Regions from separate parts of the Homo sapiens genome. Here all the other regions are linked to region 2. Evidence: promoter capture Hi-C in 16 types of primary human blood cells and fetal thymus (Javierre and others, 2016). All regions are on one chromosome and are shown on one strand. Each heading gives the region's core, a stretch centred on a gene start or on the middle of the fragment in contact. The rest is flanking DNA. Distances are from core to core; before and after follow the strand shown.

Region 1 (6,833 bases), core at 3,313-5,812, 370 kb after region 2:
CACAAGGTCAAGGGATTAAGACCATCCTGGCCAACATGGTGAAACCCCGTCTCTACTAAAAATACAAAATGTAGCCAGGCATGGTGGCGGGTGCCTGTAGTCCCAGCTACTCGGGAGGCTAAGGCAGGAGAATTGCTTGAACCTGGGAGGTGGAGGTTGCAGTGAGCTGAGATCGTGACATTGCACTCCACTCCAGCCTGGTGACAGAAAGAGGCTTTGTCTCAAAAAAAAAAAAAAAGAAAAAAAGAAAAGGAAAGAAAAGAAAACCTGAGAGAATATACTGCAGTAAGACTAATACAGGAACATAAAAAGAAATTCTTCAAGCTAAGAAAAATTACATCAGATGAAAGTCCAGTTCTGTAGAAATATATGAAAATAACCAGAAAGTGTACATATGTAGATAAATATAAAATATCTTTTAACTCTGTCTAAACACACACTCACACACTTCTTATAACACCTGTGTTTATGCAGAAGTTATTTAGGAGTCTATAACATATGGAATTGAAATACATGTTAACAAAAGTACAAAAAATATGAGGGGCAATGAAATTATGTTACTGTAGGGTTTTTAAAGTGTTTATGAAATAGTCTGACATTATTTGAGGGTAGCGTGATCAGTTAAATTTTAGAAATGTATACCAAAACAAGTCATGATTGACCATAAAGAAGACTGGACATGAGGATCAGACATATTCAGAAAACAGGTGAAATACTTTTTTAAAATCCAAGATGGTTAAGATGGTACACTTAAAAAATATACTTACATATAATTAAACTGGTTTAAATATTCTGTGTGAGAGGCAAAGATGGTCAAACTGAATATGGAATCAAGAACAATGATATGCTGCTTACAGAAATTACCTTTTAAATACAAATGCAGAGACAGGTTAAAAGGAAAAGTATGAGAGATAATATACCGTACATATTCAAACATTTTAAAAGGTGGCATTTCCATATTAATATCAACCAAAATAAATTTTAGAACAAGAAGTATTACCAAAATTAAGGAAGGATATTTCAGAGTGATGAAAGAGTCAATTCCTCAAGAAGACGAAACTGGCAAAACTGAAGAGAAAAATAATCTATCATCATAATTGAAGATTTGAACACCATTTTTAGTAATTGATAGAATAAGTCTAGAATTAATAGAGCAATGATTTTAATCAACTTAATCCTGCTGAAATGTACACAGAGCTTCATCAAATAATAGTAAAACACACATTTATTTTACAGTTACTCTAGTTAAAGTCAATACTTGTGCGGTGTAGAGAGATAGCCTTCAAAGATGTACACATTCTAGAACTTTGAAACTGTGAATGTGTTATGTTACATGGCAAAGAGTTATTAATGTTGTTAATCATCAGAACTTAAAGTAGGGATATTATCCTGTATTATCTGATTGGGCTCAAATGTAACCACAAGTGTTCGTAAAAGCGAAAGAGGGAGACAGAAGATTCAGTGTCAGAAAAGGTGTGACAATAAAAGCAAGATTGAAGTGGTGTAGGGTAAGGACTTAACCTGCTATTTCTGCCTTTGAAGGGAGAAGGGAGACATGAGCCAAGAAATGTGGGAGCCTCAAGGAATAGGGAAAGACAAGGAAATGGATATTCCTCTAGAACCTGCAGAAGGAACTCAGCTCTTTTAGAGCTATGAAAAGTAAGGAAAAATACATTATGCATATCTTTTTATTTGTTTTATTTCTAGTACTCTGTTTTTGTGTCTACGTGAATATCCAGTTTTCAGATTCTATATTTCTTCTGTCTGAAGAATTTTCTTTAGCACTTCTTGACAGCATGTCAGGAATCTTAACAATCAATTTTCTCAGTTTTGGTTTCACTGAATAAGTCTTTATCCATTTTAAAAGAAATTTGCTTAAAGTATAGAATTCTGGGTTGTTAGTGATTTTCTTTCAGTGCTATTAAGATGAGACTCCATTGTCTTCTGATTTGCATAGCTTCTAATGGTAAGTCTACTGTAATTCTTGTCTTTGTTTCTCTCTATATAACGCGTCTTTCATTCTCTAGTTGTCTTAAAAATGTTGTTCTCTTTGGCTTTCAGAATTTTGTGTCTGGTCTGTTTAAGTTTATATGAGTTTGTTGGATAGTCCTACTGTTCTTGCAGCTCAATTACATATATAGTTTGTTGTTGTTGTTGGATTTTGTTTTGTTTTGTTTTTGAGACAGGGTCTTGGTCTGTTGCCCAGGCTGGAGTGAAATGGTGCAAACACAGCTTGCACTCTTGGGCTCAAGCAACACTCCTGCCTCATTCTTCCAGGTAGCTAGGACTACAGGTGCAGACCACCACACTTATTTCATTTTTAAAAACAATTTTTGTAGAGAGGGGGTTGAACTCCTGTCCTCAAACAATCCTTCAAGAAGCACATAGGCTTCTCAAAGTGCTGAGATGATAGGCACGAACCACCGTGCTCAGCTCAATTGCATACATGGTAAACCTTTAGATATTTTCCACAAATTCTGAGAGGCTGCATCTTGTTTTTTATTTAAACAAGTGAACGAAACCAAAAGGTTTTATTTTCCCTCTTTGCTTTTCAATTTGTGTTATTTCTGTTGACTTACCTTAAAGTTCATTGATTCTTTTTTTGACCATGTCAAGTTTACTGATAAGTCCATTGAAGAAATCCATTATGTCTGTTACTGTGTGTTTTACTTACAGCATTTCCATTTTATTCTTTCTTTTGTTTTCATCTATCTGCTGAAATTACACATCTGATTGTGCATAGTGCAAACCTTTCTATTACAGTCTTCAATAGATTAATTATAGTTATTTTAATTTTTCTGTCTGATAACAAAATCTGTGTAACATTTGAGTTTGGTTTTGTTGATTGCTTTGCTTTGTAACAGTGTGTTGCTCTTTCTTGTTTATTTGTACATCTCTTATTTTTGTTTTTAGGCTAGACATCTTTTGCAGAGCAGTAGAGACTGAATTAAATTGTTTTTGTGCTTGGAAATGGGCATGGCTCTCCACCTTTTCAGCTTTTGATTACTCAACCTAGTGAGAAGTAGATTTGCTTTTGGATTTTTCAGTTGTTATGGCTACTCTTAGTGCAGTACAGGCTTTAAATTCCTCTAGTGTTACTTTTCATTTAGAATGGAGATGAGTTTTCCAGAGGGTTTTCTTAATATCTATTCTACTCTGAGCTTTGTCTTTTTTTTTTTTTTTGGTCCTGTACTTCAGAGAATGCCTTCATTCATGCTGTTTCCCTCCCTCAATAGTAGACAGCAGTTACTTGTTATCCAACTCTTATTAGCCTGGTTCAGAGGAGGTTTGAAAATATTCTCTGTTTTTAATTTCCCTTAGTTTTAGATAGGCACTGTGTTCCTGGGTCTTATTAGAGGTTCTATCTTCTCAGTGGTTGTACTGCATTATAAATCATAAGTTTGACCTCACTAAGTATTTATGACCTTCTCTGATTAAGAAATAGATTTATTTATTGTGCCGTTATCCAGCTACAACAAGTTTCCACCAATGTCTTAAGCTTAACAGAATATATTATCTTTCTATCAGTGGTGCAAGTATTTTGTTCTATAAGAGATTTAGAGGAGAAGAATCTACGTGGGCTTTGTGCTTTCCATGCAACAGCTGCAATCACCCTTCCCCATATCTGCATCCACCCTTCCCCATATCTGCATCGTATGGAATGATTGATTGCTCATATTCCTTGCCCTACTCCAATCTTTCTTGCTGAGCACCCACCTAGGTCTGTGAACAAGAGCCTGTGAGTCAGTATTAAATTTCTTCACAGGTTTTTTTTGTGTTTTGCTACCTCACACTCAGCCTTTGGCAAATTTATGTTAACGAATTTAGCCAAATTTTTCTCACTATGGCCAGGAAGATTCTGCCTCAGGTGATCTCTGTTGCTGCTTACCTTTTCTTATATTTTTGGTTAGTTGTTTGTCCCAACACATGAACTGTCTGATGCGTTTAAATAAAGTTGGGAATTTGAAAATTGGCCACTTTTTGCTGTTCTTGTGAGTGTAGGAGTAATACCCTTTTAAGCTCTTTACTTCCTTAGCAGAAGCTGGGATTTTTATATAGTTATTTAAAGTGCACATGCAGCATCTATCAACATTGATGATAAACTGGGTCATAAAACAAATCTTACTGAATTTGAAAAGATTGAAATCATATAGAATATGTTCTTTGATCAAAACAGAACTAAGTTATGAAGTAATAGTAACAAAATATCTATAAAAGCACCCAATACTTAGAAATTTAACAACAAAACAACTCACCACCACCAACAATAAAAACACACACAAATAAATGAAATAATAATTTAAACCAAACCATGATAAAAATTTAACACATCGATATTTATGAGGTGCACATAAAGAATGTCAAAGGAAAACTTATAGCATTAAATACTTAGAAAGTAAAAAGTATTAAGGTCATAAAATAAGGTTGCAACTTGGTTATATAAAAACAAGAGCAAACTTACCTGCTTGATCCTGCTGGTAACAAAATAAAATAATTTAAAAAAATAAAATTTAAAAAGAGTAAAAGAACACCAATCAATAAGGAAAAAGGCAGATTTTTTGAAAATATTAATAATATTGATAAATATCTAGAGGGACTGCTCAAGGGGAAAAAAGAAAAAATATTTACTACTAATAAAGAAATGAAAATAAGACATAACTACAGATCTTATAGACGTCGAAAATATAAAAATTTATGAACATGTTTACATGTATAAATTTTACAACTTGGAAACAATGAACAAATTTTCTGAAAAACACAATTTACCCAATCTGACATTATTAGTTTTCTAATTCTGCATTAAAAAATATCCACAAGTGCAGAGGCTTAGAATGAGATTGTCTAACATGTCTGTAGATCACCAGTCCAGGCATACCGCAGCTAGGTTCTCTGCTCATGGTATCACAAGGCGGAAACCAAGGTGTTATCTAGCCGGTGTTCTTATCTGATGCTCAGAGTCCTCTTCCAATTCTTCCAGTTCTGGTAGAATTGAGGATATTAGGTCCTTGAGGTCATTCGGTACTTCCTGAATCTCTACAACATGAAAATTTTCATTTTTTAAATCAACAGGAGAATCTCTCTTTTCAACAAGAGGCAGAATCCCTGTTTTAAGTGCTCTCTGATTAGGCCAGGTCTATCTGCAAGAATCCTGCTTTTGATGAACTCACAGTCATCTGCTTAATTACATAATCATATGATAAAATGCCATCATATGGGATTTTACAAGTCCTGGTATATTCTCTTTGAAAGTGGACTGGGCATAATAAGGTGTTATGAGTAGAAAAGAAAAAGGCAGCTCACGCTAATAATCCCAGCACTTTGAGAAGCCGAGGCTGGTGGATCAGTTGACGTCAGGAATTCAAGACCGTATGGCCAACATGGGGAAACCCCATCTCTACTAAAATAAATAAACAAATATATATTTTTTAATTTGACTACTCATAACACAAGTTCATCCCACATTGAAGGAGAATATACCAGGCATGCACATTAGAAGGAAGGAAACTTGAAGGCTATCTCAGAATTCTTCCTAGCATACTGACCAATAAAAGAATCAAATCTGAATATTTCTGTATTTATTAAATAAATTAAATGCAGAGTTTTTAAAAATTCTATTAATATATTTTAAGCTTAGCCTTACTGGTTGCTATACAAAATATTTAGGAAGAATTAAACTAGTCTTACCTAACTCATTCAGAAGATAAGAAAGAGGGAACAAGTCTAGACTTACTTTATGAAGTTGGAGTAATCTAGATCGAAACTCTACTAAGTACAAAACGAGAAAAAAATTAGACCAATCCTCCTCATGAACATAGACATAAAATTAATCAACAAATTATTAGCAGGTCAAATTCAACAATATCTGAAAGAGACAATACACAATGATCAAGTAGATTTTATCCGAGCAATACAAGTTTGACTTAACATTAAAAATTAGCCAATATAACACAACTTAATGAGCAGTAGAAAGTAACATAATTATCTCATGATGTGCAGAAAAATATTTCAACAAAATTCACATCTTTTCATGGCAGAAATGACCAAGAAATAAGAAATAGAAAGCAGTTTCCTCAATCTAATAAACAGCATCATAACAAAATGAAACTCACATCGTGCATGCATCATATGTAATGGTGAAATGTAGAAATGTTCCCCACTAAATTCAAGTAAAAGAAAAGGATGTCTTTTAAATAGAAGATGTCACAACCTCTGTTTAACTTTTTTCTAGGACTCCTAGGCAGTACAATGAGTCAATAAAAATAAATAAAAGTCATAAATAAATCAAAGTGAGATTTAGTTTAAACAAAACCACCCCAAGTCCTGTTATAGTCAAACTATCAAAAATTAGACAAAGAGTATTCTGAAAGCAGCAAGAGAATGAAGCAAATTTCATATAAGGGAATTCCAATATGACTAACAGCTGAATTCTCAGCAGAAATCTTACAAGCTAGGTGAAAGGGAGATAACACTCAAAATTCTGAAGGAAAAAACTCCCAACAAATAATACTGTACTTGGCAAAACTGTTCTTCAGCAATAAAAGAGAGAAAAAGTTCCAAGACAAAGATGTAGAGAGTATCAACAGCAGGCCTTTTTATAAGAAATGCTGAGGGGAGTTATTCAAGCTGAAAGAAAAGGACACTACAGGTATACCCACAAAATATTGTGGGTTCAGTTTCAGACCACCACAATAAAAGCAAATATTGTAATAAAGTGAGTCACACTGTTCTTTTTTTTTGTTTTTTCAGTGCATATAACAATACTTTTACACTATACTGTAGTCTATTAAGTGTGCAACAGCATTATGTCTATAAGAATAATATGCATATCTTAA
Region 2 (7,221 bases), core at 3,920-6,419:
CTATTCCTGGCATCGAAACCAGAGAAAAATTCAAGCTATGAGGCCTCATAAAGAGAACACTGTTAACATAAGAACAATGTTTTCCATAGTATTCTCAGAATAAATTCAGTAACAAATTGCATGAATTTTTTTTTATTTTTAAAAAGTCATTCCTCAACATAGGCCAAAGTGCAATTCAGCTACAGTAATTTGAGGGATGGATGAGTCACAAATCATATTACCCAGAAACTGGTAGTAAATTGTATAGTATCTCAAAGAATGAATGGACTATGCATATCTCAGGTATTTCACCAGATGTATAATTGATTAAATGTTGGATATACAATATAACTTTGTGGTTGAAATTCTGGGCTCAGGAGTCTGTCCCAGGTCCAAGTCCAAGCTCTGCCTTTTAACTTGCTTTCCTACTCTTGAGTAAGATATTTCACTTTATCAAGCCAAGCAAGATGTGGTATATCATTAGAAAATCTATCAATGCAATTAATTTACAGAATCTTTTATATGTATAGTCATATTTATATTTCATAAATCAATCTATTTTTGTTCATTCATGCACATCAGTGTCCTTGGCTATTTATCAGAAGAGGACTAAGTCAGAAGTATGATAAGAGGGGCTCTGTCATGCTTTATTTCATAAAATAAATTACTTATAGCATTTAAATTTTATACAAAGACAGCACAGCAAAGCTTTGTTCATGTTAAAAATACAGTTAGAAAAGTAAAATAATTGGATTGGATCAGAAAAACGTACCCTGGTGTTGAAAACAAATTTAAATAGGGAATAATAAAATAGACCAGTGTTGTTGTTATTTGAGACGGAGTCTCGCTCTGTTACCCAGGCTGGAGTGCAGTGGTGCGATCTCGGCTCACTGCAACCGCCACCTCCCAGGTTCAAGCGATACTCCTGCCTCAGCCTCTTGAGTAGCTGGGATTACAGGTGCGTGCCACCATGCCCGGCTAATTTTTGTATTTTCAGTAGAGATGGGGTTTCACCATGTTGGCCAGGCTGGTCTCGAACTCCCCACCTCAGGTGATCCACCCACTTTGGCATCCCAAAGTGCTAGGATTACAGGGTTAGCCACTGCGCCCGGTCGACCAGTTTTGTTTGTTTGTTTGTTTTAATGGAAAATATATGCAAATTGTTTCGCACAATTCTTGGAACATAGAAGTTGATTAATACATATGTTTTTATTTCTAGCTAATCAGCACCTCCTCCACCATGGCCTCTACCTAGGCGATCCATGTTTCATGTTTTTACTTTGATGCTCCCTTGCATTCCAATCCAAGTCTCCCTTTTCTGTGTCCATTTTGCATGTGAACTTTGGACAAGCTACTGTCCTTTTGTGTTTCTCATTTTTTAAAAGACATTTGGAGTAGGCCATCTTTACGGTCCTTTTCACTGTAATCTGCCATGTTTGTGTGTTACTCTCTTATAGCAGTGCTGGTAAATGGATGAATATGGTCTCTTGGCTGGGTAGTGTATTTTATCAGGAGATAATGTCTCAGATCAAAGAAGTGATTTGAAACTGAAATCTCTTGTATAAATATAGTTAGAGAAAGAGGATTTTTCTTGGAGGGGACTTTTTACTCCCTCAGAAAACAGCATGACTTTCCTTACAGATTCATTCCGCTGACACTGTCTTGCGATAACAAAAGATTTGAGATATTGTGCACGTCTTCAATACATTTACTTACCTTATATGACCACCCTACATTCCCAGCCACTCTCTTTTTTGTGTTTATTTTCTGCCAATTTACATTTCATTTGAGGGTTAATTTTTTTTTGTTTTTACTCAAAAGCAATTGTATTGAATAATGATAACCATTACAGACACTTAGTTGCAAAATGATGTAGCCAGAGAATGTGATGCCTAAGTACCAGTTGAAGCCCTACTACTCATTTACTATTTCTCTTAGGTTTCAATCCCTTCACCTAAAAGGGAGAGCGGTAGCCTCAGCTACCGCTAAAGTCAGCATAAAAACTTTCTTAATACCGTATGTTTCTGTCACGTTGATTAGAGTTAGATTCAACATTTAAGATCCTTTCCAATTCTGAACTTCTTTATTTTGTTAGTCTGGGTCAAAGGCAGAAGATGAGGAGATAAGATAAGGGCAGCCAGGAAATCCTGAGTCAGATAAGCATGCAAACAATCAAATACTCTGTTACATCACAAACAGCATAAGACAGAGTGAAAAAGCAGTTCCAAAATTAACGTAAAGAAATAGCAATCGAGAGCCATGCAAAAGCTGAAAGAGCAGCACAAATTTAATAAGCAGATTGTTAACAATAAGAAGATCCACCAGAAGCAGGTGAATGGTCCCAATTTCTGCTGTGAAATACAGTCATAGCCTCCTGCTATACAGAGAGCATGGCTTTGAGTGTAACAGGCAATGAAGACTGAAAACAGCTGCTAACAGTAAGGGCTGCAAGCAGGAGAAGATAGTGCTGGGTGGAAGTGCTTTTCTGATACTAAATCACAATGAATTACAGATATTAATTATCAGTATCATTATTAATGGCACCTTCTCTTCATCTCCTGAATAGAATTCTGAGAACCATTAAGTCTATCGCACAAAAAGTGAAAAAATTGAGTCAATTGTTCACATAATTCATATCACAAGCACTTTGAAATAGACACACAGTACAGGTTAGAATTTTGGTCAGTTTGCTTGTATTTTAAACTGAGTTATACAGAAAACTGCCTCCCTTGGTCACTGTGATTTTTGAGTGTGGATGAAGCCATAGATGACATCATGATTCTTTTATGAACTTAAAGTACCCTTGAAACCTTAAGGAAGATAAATTCAGTGTGCAAAAATATCTAGAAATCAACTAGGCCTCTTATTTATTTAACAAAGCTGATCGTAATGAAAATTATCTTTCCTGTTTTCAGAAAAAAAAATGGAGCCATCTGCATTTACAAACCATTTACTTTTCTTCTGATTATAATGATCATTTGAAACTCAACTGGGCTTTTTCTAATGGCTTGAGCCTTTTTTATACTTTGAATTTTTTAAATGCGAAATAAAAACATGGAGTTTTTCGCTGTTTACTTACATTTCATCTTCTTCGCATGGTAGGTCCGAGAGCACCAACTGAAACACATGTTTAGAACAATAAAATCCAAACATCTCATCAGTCTAATCCTTTAATACAAGCAGCGCCTAGAGACAATGTGGGTTTATATCATTTCGTTTGCTTTTTTAATTAAAAGCTCTATAGCAGAGTTTATTGTTGGTACACAGAATTTTAATTGAAAAAATCTCTGGGTGGATTCTTAAGCTCAGCAGTGGCAGAAGATATATATTGTGAACCAGATTCCATTTCTACATACCAATATAAATGGATTTTACGACAATTTTTGTTTTTTCTATATGCAGATTTTGCTTGCTCTAAAGAGCTTTTGTGCACTTTGCATTTTTTGTTTTCATGTTGTAGCTAGAGGTCAGAGGTTCATTATTAGTGAGTATTATTTTCACGCAAAAAAAAACAAGTTCCAAGTACATACATGGAAACAGAAGTCAAGCCTATTAGCATTAATGGGCATTAAATATATATTCATGAAAGGGCGACTTTAACCTGCTCTAAGGGTAAGGTCCATTTAAGATCACATGACATTCCAGTTGAGATTTACAGTCTTCTCTTTATCAGAGAAGAGAAAAAAAGTAATCATCTTTGTTGCTTTGTTTGAAAAGTCCAATACTATAAGCATTCTAAAATAATGCTCTTAGTTATCTGCACTGAGTGTCATAGGTTACAACATCTCATATACTAAATCACAAGGAAAAAGGCACTTCTTTCTAAAGATCTTATTATCTATTTGCTTGCTTGACCCTTTGAACCAGGACTCCTTCCTTGTACAAGGAGAAAGTCTTTAAACGGCATTTATGTGTAGCTCTGAACACTTAGTTGATGAAGTCAGTTGAAGTATTTATTTTCCTGGACTATAACACGCAAATAAAAGTACAAGTAAGAAGTTACAAAATTTAAAGTGATAGACTTGGGAGTTCTGTGTGAGATGTGTCTTTTCCCCCCTTAATCCCAAAAGCATCTTCTTCAGCACCTTGTATTTACTCCACCAAGTTTATCTGGGCAAAGAGATTTGTGGAGTTGCAGATGGAGCCATGAATTGGCCATCAGAGAGCATGGTAATGAACAATTTATAAGCACAGAAAATGAGTTGCATTCTTTTTTGCTAGAATGCTGCAAATAGATTTGCATACTAAGTGAAAGGAAAATGAACATTCACATTTTGTCCATAAAGAAAGTTTATTTATGAGTAGATGAAATCGTTTGGGATCCAGCTTAACAGATAAACAAATAAAACCAGTATTTCACTTTCAAGTCACTTCCGTGTTTTTTCTGTGTGTTGTACCCTAGCAATAGTACACAGTATTAAATTATTAGCACCTCACTGCCAACACATTAGCTGTCAAACTTCCAGTTATTATGAAGAGGTAAGGAAAGCTATAATTTACTTTAGATCTAAATCTTTCAGATACCTTGCATTGAAGTCACACAGATCTAGAGATGCACGTGTTAGTCAGAAGGGGATGCTGGAGCAGAGGAACTGAAATAAATCCTAAAATGGTTCTGTCTACATCAGTCAGCATTGAAAAACTGTCAAGCATCAAGTATGGTTGTAGGCAATAGTAAACATGTCTTAAATTAATCTAGCCATAGCATTTTGTTCTGTGTCAATAGCATTTTGAATTTAAAAAATTACAGCATAGCAAAGTTAAACAAAGGTTAAATTTGCAATCACGTTATTTCAGTAGCAATAGAACTAATTGAAGGAGAAATAAGACTAATGCCTTGGACATTTTGTTTTGTCCCTCTGACCAGTGAATACAAGAAATCATAAGATGCTAGTAAAGCTTGAAGGAAATCTTTTAAATGTAGAAGCAGTTAAGTTGCTCACATATAAATCTATAGCAAATCAAGTCCTCAGAGTACCTCAGAGTACCTCTGAAAACCTTAACCCAGAAAGAGAGATAGTTACCTGGAATAGCGGCAAACACAAGATCCCTATCGTTGAGATCGCTGAGGTGACACTGAAAAGTCTGGATCTTGACATATTTAAAGGACAGTCAACTTAGGATAGTGGTTTGGTGCCTGTGTTTATTTCCTTCTTTCTCAGAACTTACTAGCTTCTCTATAAGTTATGCTTCCTACCAGGACATGCATTAATAATGGCTCCTTGTGACTCGTAAAGTGCATGCTAGGGGAAGGAATGTTGGGTACATGTTTACAGGTACTAAGAGCCCAAGGAATTTAAGTTTAAGGTGAGAACTTTAGCACTGTTTGTCAAGGCCTTTAAAAGTAGGGGTTATAAATGCTGACCTACAGAGCTAGCTGGCTACTTAATAACTTTCCACATTCAAGTGCATGTTTTATTCCAGGGAACTTCTGGGTTTCTAATAGTATTTCATATTTGGAACATTTATTCAATTTTCTTCCCTTTGTTGGTACTCTTTGTTCTCCTACACACCATTTTCAGTTCCAGGTCTAACCCAAACTTAGGCATAAAGCTTTCCTTGTTTTATTGTGATAATACCCCTCTTTTAAACAAGGTATATTTCAATGTTTATTTTATGAAACAACTCCATCACTACCACTGAAAAATAAAGCAAGAATATCTAGGGAAATTCTGAGAAAAAGAAAAGGCACTAACCTATTGTACATTAAGATGTCTTAATCTATGCATTTTACAAAAATTAGTACTGATATGTGTAAATAATAAGGTAAATGTAAAAGAGTAGAGAGTTTAGAAATGGAGAGTTTAGACTCAAATAAACAAATTTATTTAAGCTTCCATTTGAAACTAGTGGAGAGAAGATGGATATCTTTCAGGGTATAATGAAGAGCTAAATGGTTATGTGGAAAGAATGTAACAAATGATTGTTAAGATGCTTAACCTCAGTCATAATTAGATAAACATACCTTAGAATTATAATCAGATTGGCAAGTTCAAAAAATTGATAATATAGGGAAGAGGGATAAATACTGGGAAACAAATACTCTCATATACGGTTGGGAAAACTGTACAGCTTATTTGGAAAACAAGTAGGCAATATACATCAACATAAAAAATAAATATGCCCTTAGAGCAAGAATTCTCCTTGCAAGATACATGAATGTACCCCTTACACATGGCACAAATTACTATATGCAATGATGTTCATCGAAGCATTGTTGGTGTTAACAAAATATTGGAAACAGCAAATATTCATGAAAATGTGACAGACTAAGTACAAAATGGTTATATAAATTCAACAGAATACTAGGAATCTGTTTTAAAAGGTGGAGACAGATCACAGATGCTGATATAGAGAGGTCTGTAATAGTTATTGAATAAAAGGAACAAAAATCACAGAACTTTGTGTACATCATGTCACATTTGTATGCAAAAATAGGAAGGTAGAGCTATAGTATTCTCTCCGTACACAAAACTTATGCATATATACTTATATATGCATAGGATGTCTCTGCATGAAACTGCTAACAGTGGTTGCTCTGTGAAAGGGAAATTGCAAACTAAGAAGACCAGAGTGGGAAGGAAATTTACTTTTCACTGTTACTTCCTTGTATTTTTGATATTTTTTACAATGTCTATATGTCATCTAATTATTTTTTACATATATTCACTTCTAAGAGCCAATTTTGAAGGCAATGATCCACAATGCAGAATGAGAATATCGTAATTCAAGCTCCAGTGTAGTTCACCACATCCAATTCAAATTGTAATGTATGAACCCATTTACAATCACACACATAGATTGCTCTAGAAACAAACCAGCAGTATTAGGTATCTAAACTACTGCACAGAGTTGGCCATCGCGGTATATGGACTAGTTGAGCTGCATCTGGATGGGTGAAGCCGTCTGTGTGGTGACTACGCTCTGTTTAGTATGCAGCCACGGTCGCAGCCATGAATTTCAAAGCAGAGGAAGGCTTGGTGCCAATGCCAATAGGAGAAAAGTAAACCAAACCTACAGTATTATTTATCCCCCAGATACGCTCCATTTTGAGTGTCTCTGAAGCCTGTAATTAAACAGAATGAAAAATAGGCTTTTCACTGGTGAACTTATTTATTAGGCAGTCAGAAGCCTGACTTCCGTCGGTGGAGTCAATGATCTTAAGAATTTCTGGGAAAGGAAGAGGCCAGATGACTAGAGAAGAGACAGAATGGAAATAAGGGCAGCATATTTGGTTTTGCC
Region 3 (6,848 bases), core at 3,144-5,643, 390 kb after region 2:
CCATTACATAGAATATGTGAGTCCCATATCAAAAATGGGAGATAAGAGTGGCCCCACTTACTCACTCCATTAACTCACTGGGAGGACTTGTGCCTTAGTCTCTGTTGGCCTAGCGGCCCTATTCCTGGGGAGAAACTCCTTTACCAGCACCACAGTAACAGTCCCATAGAACTTTAAGCTAAAGTTGCCACCAAGTCATTTGGGCTCTTTATGCTAACAGTGTAGCAGATAAGGGAAAGGATCATTACATTGGCATGAGTAGTTGATCCTGGTCATCAGGAGGAGGATTGGCTACTGTTACATAACAGTTATAAGGAGGAAATGCTTGGCATTTGTTTGGCCCACTGGAGCAATTCTTGGTGCCTTTTTGCACAATTTGATGCTAAATGGACAAGTACATAAGACACAGCCTGAAAAGATCATGGTGACCAGGGCCTCAGATTACAACAGGGTTATTACTTGTGTCACTACCACATAAGTTACCCAGACAAGCAGAGGTGTTAGTTGAAATTAAGTGTACCTAGAATGGATTATGAACAAAAATAATGACTATCACTTGCAGTCGTAAGATGAACTGCCACGTGGGCCCTGCTGTTTGTCACATTAAAATTATTCTTGCCAGGCGTGGTGGCTCACACCTGTAATCCCAGCACTTTGGGAGGCCGAGGTGGGTGGATCATGAGGTCAGGAGATCGAGACCATGCTGGCTAACACAGTGAAACCCCATCTCTACTAAAAATACAAAAATAAAAATTAGCTGGGCGTGGTGGTGGGCACCTGTAGTCCCAGCTACTTGGGAGGCTGAGGAGGAGAATGGCATGAACCCAGGAGGCAGAGGTTGCAGTGAGTGGAGATCGCGCCACTGCACTCCAGCCTAGGTGAGAGAGTGAGACTCTGTCTCTCTGTCTCAAAAAAATAAATAAAATAAAATAAAATAATTCTTACAGGTTTATCCAGAAAAAAAACAAAGATCAACCAAAATACTGCAAGAGTTGCTCCCAGGTGGGATGAACTTACCACTGAAGCAAGTAGAGCTGAGAAGCTCACAGAGTACATTACCAGGAATATTGTGTTACACCACCTAGAACCTGTTTCATGATGAAGGTACTTACTCCCTCAGATGCCAGGTGTATAGACTCCTGAGCTCTTCCTCAGGAACCGACTTCAGTTTAAGAGAGCTGCCCCCCTCAAGGTTAATCCCACTTCCAAAGTCAAGGTCCAAAGCCTGGCCCTTTGCCTTAATTCTGAAGAGCCATCTCAGTTTCAGAACTCTCCATGGAGTTGGCTGAGGGCTTTGTTTTGACGGTATCATTGATCAATTTTTCTCTTTTCTAAACTTGCCCATATTCCTTTAGATACGCTGTTCCTGAGAGCACGCCTCTGAAAATCTCTTGCATGTATATCTGTCTATCTGAATCATTTTTCCTAAAGAAGATAACTTAGGACACAAGGTCACACAGAATATAAGTGACAACCAGAATTAGAACTCGGACCTACACACTCTCACAACAAAATTCTTTTCTCTACATTATACTGCTAAATTCTCTCAATATGTTTCTCATTTATGCTACTATAGGATGAGATGTGAATTATCTGTTTGCATGTCGTGTCCCAAAGTAGAAATAAACTCCTTGAAGACGATGACATGTATTATGAACATATTTATTTCGTAAGCTGAAAATATTGAGTATCTCATATTAAGAACCCAATTAACATTATATTTAAATAACTACAATGATAGATAAATAATTTTAGCTTATTTGAAAATTATGATTATTATGAATTAATTTCTTTATGGAAATTAGAGGAGTTGTAGACAAGGCCATACTGCCTTTTCTGACTTCCTGCTTTATTACCTCGGCCAGTGCAGGGTATTCATGAAACCCCCTATTCCACTTCCTTCTCATTGCCGCCCTCCATTTATTACCATCTTTATCTTCCTGAAAAATAATTGCAAGTAGGTAAGTCTTGTTCATAAGTCTATATGCATTCCTGTTTTCTAAAGGTGAGTTTAAATGAAGTAATTTTTTTTTCTGGATGAATAGAAGTCTCTGTGTAATTTATTAACACCAAATTTTTCAATTTTATTTACTATTTATTTATTTAATCCACCCTAAATTTCTTCCGTATTATTTTGATCTCACTATTTTTCTTTCATCTCAAATGCTTTTCTAGGTCCCATTATTCAAAATTTTAAGAATCCTTCAGGGTCCAGATCAATTGCTACATTTTCAGTCTTCATATTTTTCTAATGACTACCTCTCCCATGCTAAAAGTAAGCCCTTTCTACGTTAAATCTTCATGCTTCTATTCTTAATTCTCTTCTGGTATGTATCATTTAAAAACGTGTATATTATGCACATTTGTAATTGTCTTATCCTCAATACTCATTTTTTTGTTCCTTTTCCCAGCAATGTGGCCTTGTACATGGTAATCACTAAGTAACTTTTACTGTGTGGATGAGATACAAGTGGATGTTGACAATATATTAGTTGAATGACCAGCCATGGAACTGATTTGTGTTCCTTAAGATATATGGGTCAAATACATTTAATTACAGATGGTAAGCCAAGTAAATATGAGGGGAGACATTAGGGATAGAAAATATTTCAATATTTTTGATTAGTATTGATGTAAAAATCCTCAATAAAATACTGGCAAACTGAATACAGCAGCACATCAAAAAGCTTAGCCACCATGATTAAGTAGGCTTTATCCCTGGGATGCAAGGTTAAACATACACATATCAATAAATGTGATTCACCAAACAGAACTGAAGACAAAAACTACATGATTATCTTAATAAAAAAAGAAAAGGCTTTTGATAAAATTCAACAAACATTCATGTTAATAACTCTCAATAAACTAGGTATTGAAGGATTATACCTCAAAATAATAAGAGCCATATATGACAAACCCACAGCCAATATCATTCCGAATTGGCAAAAGCTGGAAGCATTCCCCAGGAAAACTGACAAAGACAAGGTTGACCTTTCTTGCTACTCCTATTCAATGTAGTGTTGGAAGTTTTGGCCAGGGTAATCAGGCAAGAGAAAGAAATAAAGGACATCCAAATAGGTAGAGAGGAAGTCAAGCTATCCCTGTTTGCATAAAACATGATCCTATAGCTAGAACACCCCATAGACTCAGCCCAAATCTTCTAAATATGATAAATAACTTCAGTAAAGCCTCAGGATACAAAATAAATATGCAAAAATCACTAGCATTTCTATACACCAACGATAATCAAGCCAAGAGCTAAGTCAGAATGACCTCTCATTCACAATTGCTACAAGAAGAACAAAATACCTAGAAATACAGCTAACTAGGGAGGTGAAAGATCACTACAAGGAGAACTACAAACCACTGCTCAAATAAATCAGAGACAACACAAAAAAATGGAAAGAAAAACATTTCTTGCTCATGGATAGGGAAAATCAATATCATTAAAATGGCCGTGCTTCCCAAAGCAATTTAAAGATTCAGTGCTATGCCTATTAAACTACCATTGACATTCTTCAAAGAACTAGAAAAAACTATTTAAAAATTTGTATGAAACCAAAAAAGAGCCCTAGTATTTTTAAACAGGCTACAATGTCATTTTAATGATTAGTGCTAGCTGTAATTTTTGTTACAGATGCCTACTTTTTAGGGGTGTAGAAATCTTAAGACACATTTTTGGTATCATGATATGTATTTTATTTGAATGTAATTAAAAATACAATAGAAAACAATTAGTACTTACTTAAGTGATTTGATACTTGGAATGCAATTTTAGGGACTGATTTCAGCACCTTGGCCAGAGCAATGTGATGGAGGATGTTTTTGTTCACTTTGTGCACCTTGGGTTCAACAGGACAATTATTGCTTCCTCATACCAATAAATATATGTTCAAGAGTGAATCGCCAGAAGGCTGAGACAGAAGAATAGCTTGACCTCGACAGGCGGAGGTTGCAGTAAGCTCAGATGGCATCATTGCACTCCAGCCTGGGCGAAAAGAGCAAAACTTCATCTCAAAAAAAAAAAAAAAACAAACCGAGTGAGTGGCAAAAATATGTAAAACCCAACTATAATCATTTTGTAAATATCCACTAAAGTCTTCAGACAGTTGTTTTACTTTAATAACCATCCTTTTTAAATAACTAATCAACCATAGAGCCTTAGAGCTGAAGAGAACATTAAAAAATTACCTAATCCAAAACTCCTTTCTCCCGTTGCCCAGGGACAAATACCTGTGCTGAAGTAATTTTTTTCCAATTACAAATTTGTCCATAAATTAAAGTTCTTTTTATCATTGCAAATATGCTTATTAAACATGACATTTTCTTATACAATAGGTTATTTAGTAGAAATTTTCAGGAGACCAATGTTCTATTTCTAGGTTTTTCATGTGAATTGGACTAAGTAATACTAAAATTCTGGATCTAAGATTTTTGTATTTCATAAAACGAAACAAAGGGTTGTAATGATACTGATGGTGCTATAGTTGCATGTATATTATTCTTTTATGAAAGCAATGTGATCAAAGTGTGATTAGGACTCACAATCTGTTGAACTCCTTACAAAGGCATACCTTTCATAATTGAAATGACTTAGGATCCTTCCTGAAAAGTGACGTTATTCTCAATGATAATAAACCATAGAAGAAATGTGCCTCTTTGGACTGGATACTTTAATGCTTTCCAGTTTGCATATAAAACTAAGTTATTTTTAGTCTTACTTACATAAGAGTTAAAATGTTTAGGAGGGAATTTCTGAATGGTACATGTTAAAGTGGTACCATTCACGTAGAAATACAACATTAGTGCTAGGATTAAGTAATCTAGTCTATGAAAAAATAAAAGACAGTGGAGTGCCTTTCTTTTCTCTCACTATCATATCCTCCTTCTTTCCCTTATTTCTAGATTTATGTATTAATAATAAATTAAAATACAATATGCACTAGAAATATTGAAAAAAGACAACCACAGAAAGATAAGAAATATGTGTGCTGTAAGCCAAGTTATTTTACTCTTCTTTGTGTTTATTTTCTTTTCTTCTATCTTGGGATGGTCAACAACTTTAAGTTACAATGTATAATAAAATACCACACAATGCAATCATAAAATAATAATAGTTATATATGTTGATATGAAAACATGCATAATGAATTCACATATTCAAAAACTAGTCAGTTCTGTACAACAAATGGCCAGTTTATTTAACAAATCAATGCTGTATAGAAAAGTATTAGATAAGTTTGGCTGTTATAGAATAAAAGAGTGTTACAAAATAAAGGTTTTACTAAGAAGTAAAAAACTATATTAAGGAATTAATATTAATTTTGTTAGATGTGATAAGGGTCTAGTGGTTACTTATAATTGAACATGTATATTACAGTGATTTGGATGAAATGGCATGATATCTTATACCTGTTTTTAAGAACTCAAAATGGTGATCATAATATAGTAGTAGTTCTGAACAGATCAAACAAGATGTGAAAATGTTGATAATTGTTGAAGTACATGGGGCTCATAAAGGATTTTCCCTATTTTTACACGTTTGAAAATTTATACAACAAAAAGAAAAAATCAGCAGTTCCCAAAGTCACTATGCCCATTTCAGTATACTTCTCACCTTTTCTTCTACACATAAATGTGTATTTTAAAAAATACTTCTCATCTTTGCTTCTACACATAAATGTGTATTTTTGCTCTATGTGTATTGCTTTATGTGTTTAGTTTTGTTTTCTAATATGTATCATATAAGCATATGTGATTAAAAATATACCAATGTTTTGTAAAAATAAATGATTTTCTTTCTCCCACAATGCTAAAGGAACAAAAGTCTTATCAGAGATCATATATTGAAGTAAAGAAAATGTCTTATGGGTCCAATATATGTTGATGGTAACAATAATTACAGGGAAAGAGATCAATTCAAGAGCAAAATGATACCATGTTGGAGTCATCATAACTTGACTGGCCACAGATTTCCACTCTCAGAGTCTCTATCCCTTGCTGAACTACCTACTTTCTGATTGCACTTCTCGCAGGAGCTACACTCAATTGATCTATGTGGTTTAGAAAATCTTTTCCAGTTCTCATAATTTGCATTTCCAAGCTTTCTTATTCTACCTTGATGTGTTTCTTTATAGATGATTATAATAGTAGTGATTATAATAATTAACATTTCTGCATCTTACCTAGTATGTGTCAGGACTAGTTCTAAATATTTCAGTGTAACTCATTCAATCATTGTGTCAAAACTTGAGTTAAGCACTATAGTGTTGCCAATATTACAAATGAGGCAAAGTTCTAAAGAGGTTAAATAATCTGCATAAAGCCATGTAACTGTTAAGTAGAAAATTAGCATCTATTCTAATGAGTGTAGATATGAGCCTTTTGGGGGAACTTAACAACTGATTATCTTACATTTGGGTTGAGTCTAGGCATAATAGGAAGTCTGCTTTAACCAGCCTTTGTAAAGTTGAGGACTAAATGCTTCTAAAATCATTCAATATGTCAGCATTCCTCACAATGTTGGTTAAAACAGACTCCAAAGCCTATTGATTAAATTTAAAATCCATGGATAAAAAGATTGGAATAAATATTTTCTTAGTTCTCTCATATTTAATAAGATTAATATTATTTATATGGTAGAAATGCTTTTTTCTTTCATCTTTTATGTATATGCCTTTGTACCTAGACAAGCTGAGCCATCCATCTCTCATGTGGTAGTGGGGTTGAACGTGTTACAGTAGTCATACAATGGAAAAAAATGTTAAAAAAATTCAGCTGTGATGTTGAACACAGTATTACAGATATATAATAATAGTCACATTTCATAGAGATAAAATTATTTCCTA
Region 4 (6,964 bases), core at 1,519-4,018, 490 kb after region 2:
TTTAATTTGTATTTACCTAATGACTAATGATGTTGAATGCATTTCATGTGCTTATTTGTGCATATTTCATCTGATATCCAGTTCTTTATATATTTTAAATATTGGTCCTTTGTCAGATAAGTCAGATATGTGGCTTGAAATATTTTTTCTCAGCCTGTAGCTTCCTTTCCATCCTCTAAATAGGGACTTTCATAAAGCAAATGTTTTTAATTTTGATGAAGTGCAATTTATCAGATTTTCGTTCTATGGATCATGATTTTGGTATCAAGTCTAAGAACTCTACCTATGCTGAAGACTTATTTCGAATCTTTTCTAAAAGTTGTATAGTTTTACCTTTTATGTTAAGTGCATGATCCACTTGGTGTTATTTTCTGTATAAAGTGTGAGGCTTAGGTTGTAGTTCTTTTTTTAATTTCCTTATGTGTCCAATTTCTCCAGCACGGTTTGTTGAAAGGCTATCTGTGTTGCATTGAGCTACCTTTGGAACGTCTCAAAATTAAGTTGAGCATATTTTTATGTGTCTGTTTCTGGGTTCTGTGTTCTAGTCCGTTGATCAATGTGTCTATTTCTCTAAAAATACCACACAGTCATGATTTGTAGTTTAAGCAAGCTTTAATATTGAGTAGAGTGATATCATCACTTTATTCTTTGTTGTCAAGATTGGTTAAGCTATTCTAGGTCCTGTGCCTTTTCATATAAATATTAGGATTAATTTGTTTATATCTACAATACATCTTGCTCTGATTTTTATAGGAACTGCATGAAACCTGAAGATGAATGTAAGGATAATCGATGTCATTGTTTTACAGCATACAGATGCTGTATATGTTTTATTAAGTGCATACATAAGAATTTTATTTTTGAGGGAATGATTTTAAATGGCATTGTATTATTTGTTTCTATGTGCTCATTTTTATTTTCTTTTATTTCATTTTATTTTAGTTTTTGTAGGCAAAGCTTTACCTCTGTCACCCAGGGTAGGGTGCAGTGACACAACCATAGCTCGCTATAACCTCGAACTACTGGCTAAAGCGATCCTCCAACCTCAGCCACCCAAGTAGCTGGGACTATAGGCACATGCCAATGCCACCATGCCCAGCTAATGTATGTTTATTTTTAGTGTACAGAAAGTACACTGATATTTTTGTGTTGATTTTGTATAATGCTACCCTACCTCATTAAATTCACTTATTGATTATAGAAATTCCCCTTCCCCTAATTTTTTTGACATTTTGTACATACACAATTATGTCATGTGCAAATACAAAAAGTTTTGTTTTGTTCTGTCTCATCTGCATGCCTGTCTCTTTTTCTTCCTTCCTTTCCTCCCTTCCTATCTCTCTTTCTCCCTTCATTTCCTCCTCTCCCTGTTCCTCCCCACTCCTCCCTTTCCTTCATTCCTTCTTTCTTTCTTTCTCTCTTTATTTCCCTTTTCCTCTGTTGCTTTATTGCAGTGGCTAGAACTTCAGTATTATGTTAAATAAGAATGAAAAGAATAGACATCCTTACCATGTTCTTGATCTTAAGAGGAAAAAATGCCTTCCGTTTTTCACCATAAAGTATGAAATTATCTGTAGATCCCTGAGGGTTTCTATACTGAATAGGGTTTGGATTTTTGACAAATGTTTCTTTTGTATTAACTGGTATGTTCATAGGATTTTAGTGTTTAGCCTGTTGATGTGAGAAATTACATCAATTGATTTTATAATATTGAACCAGTCTTACATACTGCTTTGCAGAGTTACATAGTTCTTCCCATGCGTTGCTAAGTTCAGTTTGCCAATATTTTATTGGGGACTTGTGTGTCTGAGTTCATGAGAGACACCAGTCTTTTTTATTTTCTTTTAACTGTTTGTCTTCTTTTGGTGACAGAGAAATATTGGGAGAAAATACATAAAATTGGTATTGGATTTCAAAATGTTTGCCAGAATTCTTCAGTAAAACTATCGAATTGGGAATTTCTTTTTTGGGTGCTTTTTAATCACACATTTATTTTGTAGAAGGTGTTCAAATTATCTGTTTCATTTTTAGTGAGATTTGGTAGTTTGTGATTTTCAAAAAATTGGTCCATTTGTTGTAAGTTGTTGAGTTTATCAGCATAAAGTTGCTCAAAGTAATGCCTTATAATTGTTTCAATGACTACAGGGTGATAGTCCCTATTTTATTCTTGATATTAGTGATTTGTGTCCTTTCTCTTTTTACTTCCGTCAGTGTTACTAGAGATTTACCAACTTCGTTGACTCGTTTTGAAGAACTAGGGATTTGTTTCATTGATTTTTTTTTTCTATTTTTATAGTTTCAATTTCATTGATTTTTCTCTTTTCTCTGTTATTTTTATTGATAGAGGGCTGTGCTGAAATCCCCACTCGAATGGTGGAATTGCCTGTCTCTGTTCTGTCAGCTTGTGCTTCATATATTTTGATGTTCTCTAGTTTGGTACATACACATGTAGAATTGTTACGTCTTCCCAGTGAATTGGTCACTTTGCAAATATGTGATGTCCCTAGTAGTATCTCTAGTAATGTTTTCTTTTCTCTGAAATCTACTTTGTCTGATGTTAATTCAGCTACTCTGCTTTTTTTTAAAAAAAAAAATAATGTTTGTATGGTGTATCTTTTTCAAACTTTTACTTCCAATCTACATATGTTGTTGATTTTAAAGTGAGTTTCTTGTAAATAGAGTATAATTGGATTTTTTGTTTGTTTTGCTCACTTTAGCTGCCAACCTGTCTTTTGATTAATCTATTTAGACTCTACATTTAGGGTAATTATTAATATGTTAGAGCTTAAGTCTGTCAATTTATTATTTTTCTTTGCTTACTTGCTCTGGCTTTGTTTCTCGTTTTTGCCTTCCTGCGGGTTACATGAACACATTGTATGGCTCCATACATGCACTGATTTGTGATAATGTATTTGAGTATATCTCTTTCTACAATTTTTGTTTTGGTTGCACTAGGAACTATGATATACGTATGTAATTTATCACAGCCTACAGACATCAACATTTAACCACTTTAGGTGAAGTGTGGAAACCTCATATCAGGCTGCTTTCAACATTTTTTTCTTTGTCTTTAGTTTTCAGAAGATTAATTATGATTAGTGTTAGCATGAATTTCTTTGGATTTATCTTGTTTAGAATTTTATTCATCTTCATGAATCTGTAGGTTTGTGTGTTTTTGCCAAATTTGGGAAGTTGTCAGCTGTTATTTCTTTGAATAGGCTTTTAGGCCCACTCTATTTTTCCTCTTCTTCAGAAACTTTAATGTTACAAAGCTGTATCTTTTAATATTGTCACAAGTTTTTGAGGCCGTTATATTTATTTTTCATTCTATTTTCTCTCTTTTGTCCAAATTGGATAAATTCTATTGATCAATCAAGTTTAGTTATTTTATCCTCTATTGATCTATCAAGTTTAGTTATTTTATCAGCGGATAAACTAGCCATTGGCTCTCTATGGTAATGAGTCCATCGAGTGAGTTTTATAATGCTATTACTGTATTCTTTTAGGTCTGTGTTTTCCATTTTTTAAAATAACTTCTATTTATTTGCTGAAATTTTATATTTTTTGCTTCAAGATAATATGTAATTCATTGTTTAAGCATTGTTACCATCACTGATTAAAACTTCTTGCCCTAAAATTTCAACATCTAATTGATTTTGGTGCTGGTGCCAGTGATTGTCTTTTTCTCATCAAGATGTAATATTCTTGGTTCTTGGGCTAACTGGATGATTTTCAATTGTATACTTGATATTTTGTATTTTATATTAGGAGACTTCGGGTCTTCTAAAATCTCTTATTCTAGAAGACAGCCCCTCTGTTTAGGTTTAGCTAGATCCTGGCATACTTTTGTGGGTTGCTATTTCTCTGACAGTTTAACTTTCAGATCTTTGCAGTGTTATTTTGGTCTGCTCGATTTACACGGTACTGCTGGGGCCCCCATGGGTCCCTGCAGTTCTTGCCTGAAGAAGGCAGAAGAAGTTTCCACAACTGGTGCTATAAGGTGTTTCTCAATCAAGGAAAGAAGTCTCTAGCTCTCTGGGATCAGTTGACTTCCTTGGACAGGAGTTTCATTTTGGTGGGGTTTTCTTTTTGTGGGGGACGGAGAACACTGTTATGGTGAGATTTCCACCTACCCATCTACTTTCAGAACCTTAGGACCAAAATGTCTTCCTAGGTTTAACTCCTTAACCTAGCAGCAGTTGCTGCTGCCCAGCTGACCACGTAATAATTCTCATTGGGAGAGGTGGTCTTATGCCCACAGGGATATAATAATCTTCCCTGTTGTGCTGCTTATTGTGACAGCACCCCTTTTGCTGTTGCTGCCCAGCTGTCCCGTGTCTCTTGGTGGAAAAGGAGTCTCAGGCTTACATGGAAGAAGAATCTGCTTTCTCTGGCTGCTGATTGCAGTTGGGACTCCCAGCTGATTTACCTTGCTTGTGGTGCCGTGCTCTCCTGGTACTGTTAGTGAACTCTTGTTCAGTCAGGGGTAGGGGGAATGAGCCAACCTGGCTTCCCTTCTGTCGCTTCACTAGGGCTGGGAAACTCTAAGGTCGATGACTTCTGCTGAGTGTGGGGATCATAAGCTTTCTTGCCATTAAGTTTTTCTGCCAGTCCTTGGGTCCCAAATCATTTGGGCTTTCTTTTATCCCCTTTCAGCACTGTTTTTTGTTGTCTCTTGCATTATTGCCAGGGTTTATAGCTGTACTTATTGGGGAAGAGTAGGTGCATGCAATCTGCTCCAGACCAGAAGTTGTGGATTATTTTTGAAAACCAAGATTGATTAAAAATAATATATAGTCAACTTCAAATTTTAACCCAGAGTCTCCTGTTACCAATTTAATACAATGATCATATATAAATTACAATAAATACTGAGCTGAGTAAATTTTCACTGGGATCACTGTCCGTAATACTAGCCATGCTCTGTCCTTCATAAGTTTTAGCATTTTGTTTTTCCTCTCACTAATTTATTCATTTGTTCTGAATAACGGGCAAGTGTAATAACTCCTCATGTTATAATAGGAGGACACAAAAGTCTCCTCTATTCTTAGTTGCTCCCATTCAGTCATTCAATAATTAAATATTTATATTTTAATTAATACCAGATTATAGTAGACAGTGGTATAAAAAGCCAATTAAGATTCACTTCCTGTCTTTAAAAAAATTAAAAATAAAGACTAATACTAAAATAGCAGAATAATATAATACATTTTACATTTCACTAATAGCAGAATAGTATAATACATTTTCATTAGGCAGAATGCATGATTTATTTGAAATCCATTCCTATTTTTTTAAAATACTATGTACTTGGGCAAAAACCTACTTTTAAAGGCACACACACATACAAACATGTAGGCAAACAAATAAACATCATGCAACATATAGTATAGGCAAAACCATATATAATATAACAAATATAATGCTATTATAATATTGTTTTTACCAACAAAAATGAATGGCAAACTAACATTAATATTACTTACACAAAGCCTTAATAACCAGCAAATTCCAATTTAAGAAAAAACCTGAGAAAAATAAAGACTTTAACAGATCATATTTCCATGTGCAAAGTATTCAAGCTGATAAGATATTTTTATAATAGTCCAGAATTTTTATTCATTTTTAAAATTCAGGGGAGTCTAAATGTAAAGGAAATGAGAGATTTAATGAAGGCAAGATAACTATTAGAAATAATTAAATTACTTATTCCATTTCTAAATTATCTCCTTCATATAAACCACCAAAATGATTAAGTATTGTCTTAGTTTGTACAGGAGTATTATTTTGTCAACAGGTTGAAAAAGTTATGCCTCTTGCTGAGAAAAAAAACTAACAAAATTAAACATTTTTTGATTGCTTATTCATTCCAAAACCAGTTTCAATTATTCTATCTATAAAAATCAATGACAGAATATTTTTAGGGACAGAAATCAAGATGAATATTGATATATTTCTAAACATTGGGACTTGTTAACATGATGATATACTGATAATTTACTAATGAAAAATGATTGTTAGTATTTTATTTGGAATGAAGAATCCTTGATATCCTCTGCTTTTGAGTTTCAAAGAGCAATATCTAACAATGGTATTTTACAATTAACAATGATGTTTTAGGTTACTCTTTAGTGCAATTTACAATGTACTTTCTCAACAGGTATTTTAGAGGGAATTAAGGCACAACAAAGAACTTGCCCAAAGTCACAATGAACCCACACTAGAAAACTTACAGTCTGTGGTCTTCATTTTACATTTTTTTTTGACAGCATTTACTTTCTATATTTAAAAATAAATATAGGTGTTTAAATACATTTCAAAAAATATGTCAAAATAATTCACATTTCTTTTAATTCTAGAAATATTTTGAAACCTTAACAATGGATATATTCAGTAATTATTGTAAATAGAAATATGAGTTAGGAATTTAATCATTTGACTTTCTAATTGAGGCGAATGGCAGTGGCTAACAACACCGGAGTAGCACTGAATGCAGTAATTCATTCCCTTCACACAAATAGCTACTGAAAGGCAGATGGAGGTGCCAGTTGTGTCGGGTGCAGGTGATTACTGCCCAGCCTGGACGCCACCAGGTTGTTTTTCTCTCCACCAGAAAACTGTCCATTCACTTTCCTAAGTGCCAAAAGCAAAAGGAGAGGAATTTATGAAGTCCCTAGCCCATATGGCTGGTAGTGAATTAATCTGTGTCTGAGCAGCAGGTAGCACGAGCCAGTCTGTCTGTTGGGGCTGTTAGTAACCCAGGGGCAGATCAGAGAACAGCAGGAGAGAGGATCAACTCAGGCTGCAAATACAGTCAGGAATGTGGCAGGAAATTATTTCTGAAAACACACTTTGCAGCATAAGGGCAGCCATCAGATGCTACATGATAATCTATCTGCACTTTGTACACTCATAATTATATAGAGCTATATAAGTAGGTGTGAATTTAAAATGTAGTTGTAGA

The links. Contacts are between HindIII fragments. The CHiCAGO score rates a contact against its expected background, and 5 or more counts as called.
Region 1: a contact is called between a fragment that was not itself captured here and the fragment with the promoter of TMEM207 in region 2, in 1 of 17 cell types (neutrophils). The highest score is 8.5, in neutrophils.
Region 3: a contact is called between a fragment that was not itself captured here and the fragment with the promoter of TMEM207 in region 2, in 1 of 17 cell types (neutrophils). The highest score is 6.9, in neutrophils.
Region 4: a fragment that was not itself captured here is called in contact with the fragment with the promoter of TMEM207 in region 2 in 1 of 17 cell types (neutrophils); the score reaches 6.0 in neutrophils.

The regions. Positions count from the first base shown.
Region 1 is chr3:190,815,780-190,822,612 of GRCh38, forward strand. No RefSeq gene overlaps it. Among named protein-coding and RNA genes, the nearest start is that of GMNC, 43 kb to the right of the region's middle. The HindIII fragment of the contact is 2,131 bases long and covers 3,498-5,628 here.
Region 2 is chr3:190,444,732-190,451,952 of GRCh38, forward strand. It overlaps TMEM207 (transmembrane protein 207), which reads right to left and starts at 5,170. Exons shown (of 5, transcript NM_207316.3): 1 at 5,004-5,170; 2 at 3,059-3,096. The coding sequence starts at 5,078. The HindIII fragment of the contact is 654 bases long and covers 4,877-5,530 here.
Region 3 is chr3:190,836,546-190,843,393 of GRCh38, forward strand. It overlaps a transcript of GMNC not described here. Among named protein-coding and RNA genes, the nearest start is that of GMNC, 23 kb to the right of the region's middle. The HindIII fragment of the contact is 3,416 bases long and covers 2,686-6,101 here.
Region 4 is chr3:190,935,386-190,942,349 of GRCh38, forward strand. No RefSeq gene overlaps it. Among named protein-coding and RNA genes, the nearest start is that of SNAR-I, 61 kb to the left of the region's middle. The HindIII fragment of the contact is 3,626 bases long and covers 956-4,581 here.